Regions from separate parts of the Homo sapiens genome. Here regions 1, 2, 4 and 5 are each linked to region 3. The links are contacts of gene promoters, found by promoter capture Hi-C in blood cells and fetal thymus (Javierre and others, 2016). All regions are on one chromosome and are shown on one strand. The core of a region is centred on a gene start or on the middle of the fragment in contact, and the rest is flanking DNA. Distances in the headings are between cores, read along the strand shown. Region 1 overlaps ALK (ALK receptor tyrosine kinase). Region 2 overlaps ALK (ALK receptor tyrosine kinase). Region 3 holds the start of ALK (ALK receptor tyrosine kinase). Region 4 overlaps ALK (ALK receptor tyrosine kinase). Region 5 has its middle 20 kb from the start of TOGARAM2.

Region 1 (2,700 bases), core at 167-2,666, 660 kb after region 3:
GTATGTGTATAAGCACACACATGTGTGTACCTGTGCATGCACATACACGCAAATAAATTCGGTCTGAGAAACAAGCTGGAAGAACAGCATGGAAAATTCATCAACTGAAAACAGTTCGTGTTGTAGAAAGAGGGAAGGTGATGTGCCCCTCCTCACTTAGCCCCAGGTTTACTTTGCAATCACTGGCCAATTGCTTAACTTTTCTACATGATTGCATGACTTATGAGACAAAAGTCACAGTTCTTCTCCCTTCCCTATCTACTGACCTATCGTGGTTGTAAGGAGCTAGGCTTACTGGAGGAGAAATGTACCATAAATTGTCCATTGAAATTGAAGGCCTCAACATTCTCAACCCTGTTCATTCAGAATCATGATACCATCCTTTTATCTGAAGTTAGACTTCCAATACCTTCCACCATCCACCAAATATAAATGCCAAAATATAAATACGTTCCAAAACTGTGACATAAAGATTTTCTGCAGTTAACTGCCCCTTAGCCTGATACATGAAGAGGGGTAGGGCCACTCTCATGCCCTCACCTGATCTTAGAGGTAAAGTAAGATTAAACACGGGTGGACATGCTGCAGTACCGAGAGACACCTGCCAGCAGAGACAGAGTCACTATAAAATATTTATGCCTGAGGCCATTTAGTGAAGAGTCAAATAGCCCTAAACAACTCATTAAGTCTGGGAAGCACTATCAAGAAAAGGTTAAATTATACTTAGTGAGCTGTATCGAAAATAGGCAGAGCATAATGAAACGGCAGGTTCTAGACCATGGTCATTGGAGATGTCCCTGAGGTGAAATCTGAAAAAACAAACCTGCAGCCCAGGAAGAGAAATGCAGGTGAGGGCTCTGACCAGATAAATGGCATACAGGGGCTCACCATAGCAAATGAGCTCAAATGATTTCTACATTTAAAAAATGTTTCTAGGATTCTGGGAAGAGGGCAGTGATGGTGGTAACAGCATAGTTTTTTTTTTTTAATCTTTCCAAATCCCTACATAAGCACAGAACACCCATATATCAAAACTGAAAACCCATGAACAATATTGACAGCAAAATTTGAAAATAAGGCATTCCCCTAAAACTTCAAAATGCAAGTGAGATAGGTCAAAGCACCAACAACCACAAGACCTGCATGGTATCAGCATCTGTACAAGATATAAGACAGGAAAGAAACAGGCCTGAGAACAGGAGAACCCCTAAGTAGCCAAGAGATAGTTGCTAGAAATTACAGAAAGCCAGTCTGAGAGCAGCTTCTGAAAGTGGGAGCGGCTTTGCCCAGTGCAGGGGACCAGGAGTACCACAGTCAGATCTGAAGGCGCTGGAGCAGCCTGGCCAGCAAACGTCATTGCAGGAAAGGGCCCACTTGGAGAAGAAAGTTCTGGGGATAAAATCAATATTGAGTAGGAAAGGGATAATAGAGAATAAATAAGAGAATGTCCAGATAAAAGTGAAGGAAAGAAACAGTCAGAAACCTCAGAAAGCAAACTGCGTTTTTTTGTTGTTGTTTTTTTTTTTGTTTTGTTTTGTTTTTGAGGCAGAGTCTCCCTCTGTCACCCAAGCTGGAGTGCAGTGGCATGATCTGAGCTCGCTGCAACCTCAGCCTCCTGGCTTCAGGTGATTCACCTGCCTCAGCCTCCCAAGTAGCTGGGACATAGGCACCCACCACCATACCTGGCTAATATTTGTATTTTCAGTAGAGACGGTTTTACCACGTTGGCCAGTCTGGTCTTGAACTCCTGACCTCAGGTGATCCACCTGCCTCAGCCTCCCAAAGTGCTGGGATTACAGGCATGAGTCACCACACCTGGCCAAACTGCCATATTTTTGAACACTGTATTAAAAAAAGGAGTAGAGGGAGTTCTGTGAAATAAAAAAGCTCCTGAACCCTAAAAATCCAGGAAAACTAATCTCACATAAAAATACATAACAGAAGAGCATCAAGATCAAATATCATTCAAAATTAAAATAAGAAAACAAAAACAGGATACAGAGGGCGGAATAACACGCCTACAGAAAGCAAAATCATGCCAGAAAGACGTGCTTATTGGATGAGTCAGAATCTAACCTTCTGTTTTAAAATGAGCTAAAAGACACAAAAACAATAATACAAGACATGAAAAATAACGTAAGTCATTGTAAGAAAAACAGAAATGTGGTGCTAGAACTCAGCAAAGAATTTGCAATAAAAGAAAAACTATTTTCAAAAATGAAGGCTAATCTATTAAGGGAAGGAACAAAAAGCCAACAAACACAACAGTTTATGCCTTATAAGAAATAGAAGTTAAAAAGAGGAAATTTTTTAAAATGAAAAAGATGACACACATCAAAGACTCTATTTTCTTGTTATATAAAGTGTTGCTGTCAAAAACTCTGATAATTCTAAATTTCCTTCTCTAATAAGTCATTTGCTATTTTGCTTAGGTGCCCAAAGTATTTTTTTCTTTTTATTTTAAAGTCCGGCAACTTTACTAGAATATACATGAAGATCCAACATAGAAATAATTGAAAGACCTGACGAAGAAAACCGAATAACTAGAACAAAACAAAATACTTAAAAGTATAACTCCAGGAAAATATCCTTATTGAAGCTACTTGTTAAAAGAGCACACTGTATACCTAAGAATATTAACCCAGAATGAGCGGTACCAATGTGTATTCTAGTAAAATTGCTGGACTTTAAATAGAAAGA
Region 2 (2,700 bases), core at 121-2,620, 680 kb after region 3:
TAATAATTTGGCTAAATTTAAACATACGAAAGAGTTCAGAATGATTCATAATGCATGGTTGATGCAAATGACTATGCAAATGATGCCAAAAGGAATGGGCAGCATGACGCTTACCTCTCAACCACAGCAGGAGTGGGTAGGATGAGGACTTTGTCCTGGGCTGAAGTTTTCCAAGCAAACCACATCTTCAGGTGGAGATGACTTTTTTATGCAGCCTGACCAGGACTCAGAAACCTGGGGCAGTGAGCAGGACAGAGTTGGGGCCCATCCACACTGCTGTCCCTAGACTACAGGAAGCCGCCACATCGTCCCCTGCCCAGGTTCACTGAGCTAAATAATGCTGCTTCCTCTTACCTTTCACCAATAAGCCTTCCTTTTTCTCAGCCTTTTAATTATTGTTATCACCTTGTCCATTTCTCATGGATCAGGAGGGAGTGTTTGGCTGAGAGTCTGGGAATTAGGAGGGGCAAATAGCTTCTCAGACCCCTCTCTTTGTGCATCCCAGCAGCACATTGGGGAGGAAATGACCTCTAAGAGGGGATGTGCAAGGGTTTGGACCATAGCCAGCCACTGACTGGCTGTGTGGCCTCAGATGAGTTACTTAGTCCCTCTGAGCCTCAGTTTCCTCATTTGTCAAATGAGATTAATAACATTTGCCGTTTATGGCTATTGGGTGATGCCGTGTGCCTGTGAGCATGCATTGTGCCTGGCACATTGGAGGATGCTGGTAATCAGCCCACAGCCCTCTCCAAACCTACAGCCCTCAGCTTCCCCCTCCATCCACCTGCTGCAGCCAGACATACTTGAGGCTCCCTGCTTCTTCACTTCCGTTCACACAAGCCCCAATTCCCACCACCTCTTTCTGCTTGTCTCAGAGCCCTACCCATCTGCAAGCTCCATGTGAAGCCAACATCAGCCTTCCTCACCCCATCACCACACCCCACAACCACCTGTCGCAATCCCCCATCTCCCTCCTGGCCCTAAGCACCTGACGACCCTTATTTTGGCCAGAGATTTGCAGCTTCCCCGGGGCTTTCACCCATGAGCTCCTTTTGTTGGACTATCATGTTGTTTGGAATGAAAATGATTCTTCTCTTACTAGGAAAGGGGCTGGGGCTCAGAGAGGGCACAGGGGCAGGAAATGGCCCCACCTGATCAGGGAGCCCGGGAGCACTCCACTTTGCCTCCTCAACATAGCCACCCTATGGTGAGACTTCTCTTTTCATCATGAAGATCGTCTCCTCAGTTTCTTTGTGAGCTCTTGAAGAGCCTGGAGCTATCTCAGGTTCACAACGCCTTACACCGCTCCCAACATTCAATAAACTCCCATCAATGCCCAGGCACTCACCAGGGCAATGGGCACTAGATTCTCCATTTGCATTCCATGAAGACCTCAGTTCCTTGCCTGCCATGTTCGCAAACAGCCTCTGCAGAAGGGCCGTGGGCTCTGCCTTGTGAGAGCTCCGGGAGGCCCCTCACACACTTGGAAGAAGGGACATTTCCTGGAACTGTAGATAAAGGAGCTACTATGTGCACATGGGCAAAACTGCCTTGCATCTCTTCCTGGTTTTTTGTAAAAGACCTTGGATCTGAATACACATGGATGTGAAAGTCTGCCGAGTCCCATACCCTGGCAGCTGGTCCCTGGGGACACATTTGTTAGCTGGTGCGTTAGCTGTCTTCAAGACATGCCGCTCTTCTGATATGGTTCAGAAGAGAGTTCTTTTCTCCCCATCCTTGCTTGACTTCATTGCAGCAACCTAAGAGGCAGCAGAAATCATCTCCCATCCCCACACTCTGTTTTTATTTTCATCATGATGGGTTGTTTGTTTGCACACATATTTCTCCAGGAGGAGTTACCAGTGAGATGGGAATAGACAGTCGGCTCATATACACTGCTCTCCTCAGTCATTCTGTGAGGAACCTCCTTGTTTCCAGACCCCATGGGGAGACTTTACAACTTTGTACCAAGTCAATTATGGCTACTACCGTCATTAATAATAATAATAATTAACTAATACTAATTGAGTGCTTATTACATGTCAGCCACAATTCTAAGACCACATGTCTTAATTTCTTTAATCCTCATAGCACATGTAGGCTAGGAGGCAAGTTCACTTATTATCCCCATAGTATAGATGAGGAATAGGGAAGTTACTTGTCTAAGGTCACATGAGTCCATTGATCTGGGACAAGGAGAGAAAACCATAATGAGGAAATCCTAGGTATTCAGAAAGCCATCACCCCAATATGCCACATTCATATAGTCTCCTCTCTCTCTCTCTCTCTCTCTCTCTCTCTGCTGTTTCCCTCTCTCTCTCCCCTCCTTCTCTCCCTTCTTCCCTCCCTCCTCCCTGCCCTTTTCCTCTCTTTCTCTCTTGCACCCTTTACTAGTCTTTCACCTTCTTAGTTCTGTGACTGAGGCAACTCCCTGTCCCTCTCTAAACTTGATCGTCCTTTCCTGAAGTGGGGGAGAAGAATCCCTTTCTGCAGGGACTGATATGGGGGAGAACCCTCAGACCACGATGGCGATGTGCTTAGCCCACTGGAAGCTGCTGGGTTGGCAGGAAGGGGGACAGTCTTCATACCACAGCGGGAGCCAACGTTCTTTGTCCCATTGCAGCATCTCGGGCTACGGAGCTGCTGGCGGGAAAGGCGGGAAGAACACCATGATGCGGTCCCACGGCGTGTCTGTGCTGG
Region 3 (2,700 bases), core at 201-2,700:
TTTTCTTCTCGGGTGAGATAATTCTTTGCCCTGAAACTTGTAAAGTCAGTGTATCCAGTGTGACTTCCAGAGAGAGGGCAGATGCCTGTCAAATTAAGTGAGTTGCCAAACATAGAGCAGGAAGAAAGCCATTCCGAGAATCAATATTCCTTTGTTACTGGGTCTTCCACTTGCCAAGGCATTGCCACAAAGCTGGAAAGGCCCAGCTCCTAGGAGAACAGAGGTTCCACCTGGCCACTATCTCCTGTGGGGTGGTAGGCAAGTTACTGCGGCCCCCAGGAGCTCAGTGAGGGAGGTTCAATGTGACACTGTGCTCTGATCCTGTGAGAAAACTCCTGTGCTACCCGACAGGCCGTGAGCTCCAGAGAGGATCTTGCCTTATTCTTAGCTTCAACAGTCAGCCCAAGGCCTGACAACCAGCCTTTAAGAAGGAATCAAGGGGATTTGTGTGACCCAAAGATGGTAGTTTTGTCTGAGGATCTAGTGAACCACTTGTTATAAAAACAGCTATTATGAGTTCTGTGTTGGCAGCTCAGGAGAGACGAAAGGAAAGGGAGAGGAGAGGTACAGCCATTACAGGTGAGTAAAAAAGGCCTAAGGTTCTGAACCCTCATTCCCAAGATTGTGGGCAAACAATTAAATGCTCTGCAACTCAGTTTCTGCATCTGTAAATCTGGAATTAAAATGTTTGCCTTACAGAGACTAGGGGAGGTTACACATGTTCAGACACCATTCTGAGAAAACAGAGCGACTGACAGGGGTCTGAAAGGTATTTGTTGTAGCTGCAGAACAACTCTGCCAGACCAAGACCATCCATCCCTCTCTGCCCCCCTATTCCCAAATTCTCCTGTGTGGACGGCAGGACTCCTAAGCTCCCAGGAATGCATTCAAATAATAGATGGGTCAGAAAATATTCTGTCTCAGGGCCTTAATACAAGCTGTTCTCAGATTTGCCAGTGTCGCGCTGCCACCCTCTCCCCACTTCCTCCTCCCTTCCCACTCCCCCCTCCCTTCCCCTCTCCTCCAGTTTTATTCTGGAACCTGTTTTTCCGAAGTCGGACCCGTTTAATCTCTTAAATGTATAATTAGGGAGAGTGCTTGATTGCAAAGGCCTCTTCCAGTTCTCACATTTGCTCCCTTTCACACTGCAGAGAAATAGGGCAGGGAATCTAGAGGAGGGGAAGAACAAGAGACTGGAGAGGGAACAGAGGGAGGGTGGGGCGGGCTCACTCCTTTTCTCAATGAATGCCGAGGCCTCTGCAGATTTGCATAGGAGCCGATCGAGCCACGCCATTGGTTGGAGGGTGCGGGTGGGGCGGGGCGAGGCCGGACTGCGTGGGTCGGGCAGCAGCGCGGAGTTGGCTTGTGAGCCCCGCCCCCTCCGGGCCCCGCCCCCTCCCTGCGCGCGCTCGCGCGGCTCAGCCAGCTGCAAGTGGCGGGCGCCCAGGCAGATGCGATCCAGCGGCTCTGGGGGCGGCAGCGGTGGTAGCAGCTGGTACCTCCCGCCGCCTCTGTTCGGAGGGTCGCGGGGCACCGAGGTGCTTTCCGGCCGCCCTCTGGTCGGCCACCCAAAGCCGCGGGCGCTGATGATGGGTGAGGAGGGGGCGGCAAGATTTCGGGCGCCCCTGCCCTGAACGCCCTCAGCTGCTGCCGCCGGGGCCGCTCCAGTGCCTGCGAACTCTGAGGAGCCGAGGCGCCGGTGAGAGCAAGGACGCTGCAAACTTGCGCAGCGCGGGGGCTGGGATTCACGCCCAGAAGTTCAGCAGGCAGACAGTCCGAAGCCTTCCCGCAGCGGAGAGATAGCTTGAGGGTGCGCAAGACGGCAGCCTCCGCCCTCGGTTCCCGCCCAGACCGGGCAGAAGAGCTTGGAGGAGCCAAAAGGAACGCAAAAGGCGGCCAGGACAGCGTGCAGCAGCTGGGAGCCGCCGTTCTCAGCCTTAAAAGTTGCAGAGATTGGAGGCTGCCCCGAGAGGGGACAGACCCCAGCTCCGACTGCGGGGGGCAGGAGAGGACGGTACCCAACTGCCACCTCCCTTCAACCATAGTAGTTCCTCTGTACCGAGCGCAGCGAGCTACAGACGGGGGCGCGGCACTCGGCGCGGAGAGCGGGAGGCTCAAGGTCCCAGCCAGTGAGCCCAGTGTGCTTGAGTGTCTCTGGACTCGCCCCTGAGCTTCCAGGTCTGTTTCATTTAGACTCCTGCTCGCCTCCGTGCAGTTGGGGGAAAGCAAGAGACTTGCGCGCACGCACAGTCCTCTGGAGATCAGGTGGAAGGAGCCGCTGGGTACCAAGGACTGTTCAGAGCCTCTTCCCATCTCGGGGAGAGCGAAGGGTGAGGCTGGGCCCGGAGAGCAGTGTAAACGGCCTCCTCCGGCGGGATGGGAGCCATCGGGCTCCTGTGGCTCCTGCCGCTGCTGCTTTCCACGGCAGCTGTGGGCTCCGGGATGGGGACCGGCCAGCGCGCGGGCTCCCCAGCTGCGGGGCCGCCGCTGCAGCCCCGGGAGCCACTCAGCTACTCGCGCCTGCAGAGGAAGAGTCTGGCAGTTGACTTCGTGGTGCCCTCGCTCTTCCGTGTCTACGCCCGGGACCTACTGCTGCCACCATCCTCCTCGGAGCTGAAGGCTGGCAGGCCCGAGGCCCGCGGCTCGCTAGCTCTGGACTGCGCCCCGCTGCTCAGGTTGCTGGGGCCGGCGCCGGGGGTC
Region 4 (2,700 bases), core at 80-2,579, 600 kb after region 3:
GAGCTTGCAGTGAGCCAAGATCGCGCCACTGCACTCCGGTCTGAGCTACAGAGCAAGACTCTGTCTCAAAAAAAAAAAAAAAGAAATTGTTGACAGGTGGGCTTTCTTCTCCATTGCAGGCCAGAAACCTGTTTCCTCAAAGATATCCCTAGGCTAGATAAGAACTGTGCACAGTCCATTAACCCTGCACCCCTGGTCCCCCAGTTCCTGATAATGGCGTGCTTGTGATTCTTTTCCTCTCTCCTAGACCATGCTCTATTGCTCAGTACCACTGATGTCCCCGCTTCTGAAAGTGCTACAGTGACCAGTGCTACGTTTCCTGCACCGATCAAGAGCTCTCCATGTGAGGCAAGTCTCCTTGTTTCTCTAGTTCTCTAATTTCTCCTCCCACCTCTTGTCACTTCCGGAACCCAGATTAAGAAAGTAGCCTAGCTGGCTGGGCTGGTCGTTCTCCTGGGGAGAGAACAAGAGGGCCACCTCTGCCATCTTCGAGGCAGAGCATGTCCATCAACATGGTAAAGCCCTATCTACAGAGAATCATGCCTTAAACAGCCATACCCAGCTGCACTGAACTACTTGCAGTAGAACCATGATTTAATCAAACCCAGAAGAGATTTTCCATGGCATAACAAGGGAGAGTGACAAGGATTGCAAAAGACTTTCTACAGAATCCTTTTTAAAAACATTGAGCTCTTGTAATACATTGTAAATACTATACATCCTCAAAAATTTGATTTACATAAATTTCACTAAGACATCAATGGCATTCAGTGAGGTACCTCCAAAACTACTCTCTCAAATGGTTCCTGATGCTGTTATCTCATTGGTGTGGGTGGAGGGACTGGCGCCCTGTTCCTTAGCATACAGTCATATTCTTTAGGGGCCAAGAAATGTACTTAAGACCCCAGCATGGTACAGTGATTAAGCTCATGGACTCTAGAATCAAATTTCTGAGTCCAAGTCGGGTTCCACCACTGATTGATTGTATAGTTTGTTTGGGCAGTTAATTAACCTCTTGGGGCTTCAGTTTCCTCACTGGGAAAGTGAACACATTTATAGTGCCTATCCTGAAGAGTGAGGATTAAATAGATAATGTCCAAAGGGCTTGGAAGAGCATTGGGCACAAAGTAAGCACTGCAGTATTTAGCCCACAGGGTGCCTGGCACACTGTATCAACATTCAGAAGGACACTGGGGGAAGAGGAAGAGAACTTGAGCCAGAAATCAGACTGTAAGCTCCAAGAGAGCAGGCCATGTCTTGTGCTTCTTTGTACTCCCTCACTGCACCTGCATCAACATCTTGCGTGTAGTAGAAAACCTACACGTAGTTTGGGTTTGGCCAGTCATCTCGTTCTGGACACTCACAGGAGAAATTCCTGTCTGGCTCAGTTTCAGGAATAGCTATGCACCCTCTGAGCAATTTGTTTCCTGTCAAGTTGTAGACATTGTGAAACTGACCAGATTCACTTCTCCTTCTGTGGCTAATAGAAATCCCAGGGTGGTGGTTCTGTGGCCAGCAGAGGGACAGACAACAGGATTGCCCCTGCTAAGGGATGCAGGCAGAATCAAGCCCCTCGAGTTTCTCATAAAATAAAAACTCACAGACAGAAAACAAATAAGAATGGAAAAGATGTAGAAATGATTTTTTAATCCGAGGAGTGGTTAAATTAAAACCAAGGCTCCACTTGGCAAGCAAATGGGACTTTGTGATATGCAATTTGTAGCAGCTTACTCCTGGTTTGATTTTATAACTCGACATTCGCCACTTCCTTCTCACCCTCTTCTAGGCTATGCTATCCTACTAGATTTTATGTATCTCTGTGAACCACCTTAAATCCTTTTTGGAAGAATTCTGAGCACAAATAAATAGATTCATTAAATTAAATTGTGTTTGAGAAACCATGCTATCTCATGCAGATGGTGGAATTACACAGTCATTGCTGATATTTCTCAGGTGTCTGAGAGCAGGTACCTAGAAAGGAAGGCTTTTTGAGAGAACATATAAATGAAGACAGATGGTTGGCCCACCGGAGAGGACGGGAGGATCCTTAAGAGCATTTGGTCTTTAAATTTACTCTTCGCTGGGTTTAATATGAGCCAAATTTCAGAAAAAGAAATGTCAAGGTACAAATGATATTATTCTAATACTTCATCATTTCTCTAATAACCTTTGAGTTGATCAATAGCTTAAACAGGTGTTTCGTTTTACTGGCCTGTTTTATTTTTCCTGCAGTCTAATTTGCTCTGGGCTGTTTCTGCTATTCCCTGCCCTTTTCCAGAACTTGGCTCAGCAGGCATAATGAAAGGAAGGGAATAAGTCCATTCCACACTCACATTATTTATATTTATATATATTCATATGATTTCACATTCAGGTTTTCAGACCATTTGTCTAATGCTGATGGGTCTTTGAATTCCCAATGTTGGGAGAAATGTTTTTATCAGGAAAATAAATAACCAAAATAGAAATATGCATTTCTAGATTTGTAAGCCCTACCATTTATTTTATGTGAATCCTAAATGCAGAATGCAGGAAGTTGATTTCCTCCTCCCGGGCGGGCTAAACCCCAGTGGCAGAAAAAAATGGATATTGCATTTCTCTGGGGGACTATGTGAGGTTCACTCAGGGCTTTCAAACCCCACCAACCCTACAGGGGCCTCTGTTGCCTATGGGGCCCGAGTGCAGAAAGATGGACACTAG
Region 5 (2,700 bases), core at 30-2,529, 960 kb after region 3:
GAGACCAGCCTCGCCAACATGCTGAAACTCCGTCTCTACCAAACATACAAAAATTAGCTGGGCATGGTGGCACATGCCTGTAATCTGAGCTACTTGGGAGGCTGAGGCAGGAGAATTGCTTGAACCCGGGAGATGGAGGTTACAGTGAGCCGAGATCATGACAGTGCACTCCAGCCTGGGTGACAGAGCGAGACTCTGTCTCAAAAAAAAAAAAAAACTATGTATGTATATATAGTGTATATAGCAATATCCGCAAATTCTCCAACTGTGAGACTTACGTGTCCCAAAAAGATGATATAAATCTTTCTCTTCCTTAATGATGATTTTTTTTAATTTCTGGAAGAATAATAGGCCCAACTTCCCTTCTGACTATAGTCATATTAAACAAGCAAATCCCATCAATGATAAATGTCACTACTGTAAAAACTACTTAAGTTGTAAGGAAATATTGTTTCAGAGACTTAAAGTAATTGTAGTTGGAGAAAAAACAAAGAGTATCTTTGTATGATGTTATTTATATGAAGCTGAAGCAAAGACACTTATTCCATAATGATAGAAAGTATATCACTGGTTTCCTCAGACTTGTGGAAAAGAGGGACATTTGGGATTAATTGGGAAGCTGCACAAGGGAATCTTTGGGATAACAGAAATCTTCTGTATCTGGATTGTGTTGTGACTATACAGGTGTAGACATTTGTTGAAACTCATTGACCTTTACACTTAAAATATTGTTATTGATTATAAATTACACCTCATGCCGGGTGCAGTGGCTCATGCCTGTAATCCCAGCACTTTGGGAGGCCAAGGCGGGCAGATCACTTGAGATCAGGAGTTCGAGACCAGCCTGGCCAACATGGTAAAACCCCATCTCTACTAAAATACAAAAATTAGCCGGGCATGGTGGCGGGCGCCTATAATCCCAGGTACTTGGGAGGCTGAGGTGGGAGAATCGCTTGAATCTAGGAGGCGGAGGTTGCTGTGAGCCGAGTTTGCGTTACTACACTCCAGCCTGGGTGGCAGAGTGAGAAAGATTCTGCCTCCAAAAAAATTAAAAATTAAATAATAAATTATACCTCAAAGCTTTTTTTAAACAAAAGCCTTTGTCTACTGCTCTGATGGCTGGGGCCAGTCTCTTGTCACTCTGGAAACTGAGGACACTTGGATTCTACCCAAGCCTCCAAGCAGTGGCATATCAGTCTCGGAGCTTCTAGCTGGTGATGTGCAGAGGGCCTCAGAGGACTCAGGACAGCAGGGTCAATTTTTTTGACCCTAGGCTGCTAACTCACTGACTAGAACTGAATCTGGTTCTCTTCAGTTTTGCACCAACTCTGCCAAGCCACTCTATCTTATACTAAACATCATACTCAAACCAAAAAAAAGAAAAAGAAAGACTTTGTCATTATCTTGCCTCTTGGTGTGTTCCGGTATGAAGTATACAGCATCACCTTTGATGTCTTGTCAAATCGAATCAAGCTTAAGACCTGTGCTGTTTCAGACCATAGCCACTAGCTACATGTGGCTATTTAAACGTAAATTAGTGAGAATGACATAAAATTAACAATTCTGTCACTCAGCCACATGGATACATGTTAGGTGCTCACTGGCCACCTGCGGTGAATGACTTCCATTTTGGACAGCACAGAGAACATTTCTGTCATCACAGAAAGTTGTACTGGGTAGTTCCGAGGTACAACTTCCAGATGATAGAAAATACAGAGGGTACAGGAATGAGTTAAACTCACTTAGGGAAATGATCTAATCCAGCATGTGGCTCATTCTGCAAGACAACTGGCCTGGTCTCCTCGGTGTGTGATTGTTACAGATAAAACTAAGGGGGCAAGAGGGTAAGAGACCGTTTTAGAGCAAAAGTAACTAAAGAAGACTTGACAAACAAACCCAGTGAGTGAGTGTGGATTGGATCCTGATTTGAAAAGAAACTGAATATTAACGTGCTGCTGCTACACTCCAGCCTGGGTGACAGAGTGAGCAAGATTCTGCCTCAAAAAAAATTAAAAATTAAATAATATTAAATAATTAGACAGGAGGATGGTATTAGGGGATTACGGTTTGGAGCTTCAGAGATATAAGAATGGTATTGTAGTTATTGCAGGAGTCATAATCTGTAGGCACGTCACCCTGAAGTAGTTAAGAATAAAGTGTGATGATGCCTTCAGTTTACTTTCTAGTAGATCAGCAAAAATAAATATATGCACACAAATACAGATGAAGAAAAATATAGCCAAATATAGTCATGGACTGCATAATGACATTTTGGTCAATGTTGGACCACATATACAACGGTGGTCCCATAAGATTATAATACAATAGCGTATTACTTGGCTTTTTCTATGTTTAGATACACACATCTCTCTGTGTTCCAACTGCCTACAGTACTCAGTCCAGGAACATGCTGTCCAGGTTTGTAGCCTAGAAACAATGTAGGCTACATAAGATAGCCCACATGTGTAGCGGGCTGTGCCGCCCAGGTTTATGTCAGTGCACTCTTTGATTCTCACAATGACACAATTTCACCTAACAACATCTTTCAGAACATATCCCCGTTGTTAAGGGTCATATGACTATATCAACAGTGTTTTACTTTAAGTGGCGTGTATATACAGATCATCATACTATTCTTTTTTTTCTTTTTTTTGAGCCAGAGTCTCACTCTGTCGCCCAGGCTGGAGTGCAGTGGCACGA

The links. The method cuts DNA at HindIII sites, captures the fragments that hold promoters and counts their contacts. A CHiCAGO score of 5 or more calls a contact.
Region 1: a fragment that was not itself captured here is called in contact with the fragment with the promoter of ALK in region 3 in 1 of 17 cell types (M1 macrophages); the score reaches 6.8 in M1 macrophages.
Region 2: a fragment that was not itself captured here is called in contact with the fragment with the promoter of ALK in region 3 in 2 of 17 cell types (M0 macrophages and M1 macrophages); the score reaches 7.2 in M0 macrophages.
Region 4: a contact is called between a fragment that was not itself captured here and the fragment with the promoter of ALK in region 3, in 1 of 17 cell types (M0 macrophages). The highest score is 5.1, in M0 macrophages.
Region 5: a contact is called between a fragment that was not itself captured here and the fragment with the promoter of ALK in region 3, in 2 of 17 cell types (endothelial precursors and megakaryocytes). The highest score is 8.4, in endothelial precursors.

Annotation. Positions count from the first base shown.
Region 1 is chr2:29,259,676-29,262,375 of GRCh38, reverse strand. All of the region lies in intron 11 of ALK (ALK receptor tyrosine kinase), which reads left to right. Among named protein-coding and RNA genes, the nearest start is that of CLIP4, 150 kb to the right of the region's middle. The HindIII fragment of the contact is 2,997 bases long and covers 1-2,700 here.
Region 2 is chr2:29,239,754-29,242,453 of GRCh38, reverse strand. It overlaps ALK (ALK receptor tyrosine kinase), which reads left to right. Exons shown (of 29, transcript NM_004304.5): 13 at 2,624-2,700. Among named protein-coding and RNA genes, the nearest start is that of CLIP4, 130 kb to the right of the region's middle. The HindIII fragment of the contact is 3,930 bases long and covers 1-2,700 here.
Region 3 is chr2:29,920,336-29,923,035 of GRCh38, reverse strand. ALK (ALK receptor tyrosine kinase) reads left to right here and starts at 1,450. Exons shown (of 29, transcript NM_004304.5): 1 at 1,450-2,700. The coding sequence starts at 2,377. The HindIII fragment of the contact is 5,353 bases long and covers 1-2,700 here.
Region 4 is chr2:29,315,952-29,318,651 of GRCh38, reverse strand. It overlaps ALK (ALK receptor tyrosine kinase), which reads left to right. Exons shown (of 29, transcript NM_004304.5): 8 at 248-348. Among named protein-coding and RNA genes, the nearest start is that of CLIP4, 200 kb to the right of the region's middle. The HindIII fragment of the contact is 6,615 bases long and covers 1-2,700 here.
Region 5 is chr2:28,959,696-28,962,395 of GRCh38, reverse strand. It overlaps a transcript of TOGARAM2 not described here. Among named protein-coding and RNA genes, the nearest start is that of TOGARAM2, 20 kb to the left of the region's middle. The HindIII fragment of the contact is 393 bases long and covers 1,083-1,475 here.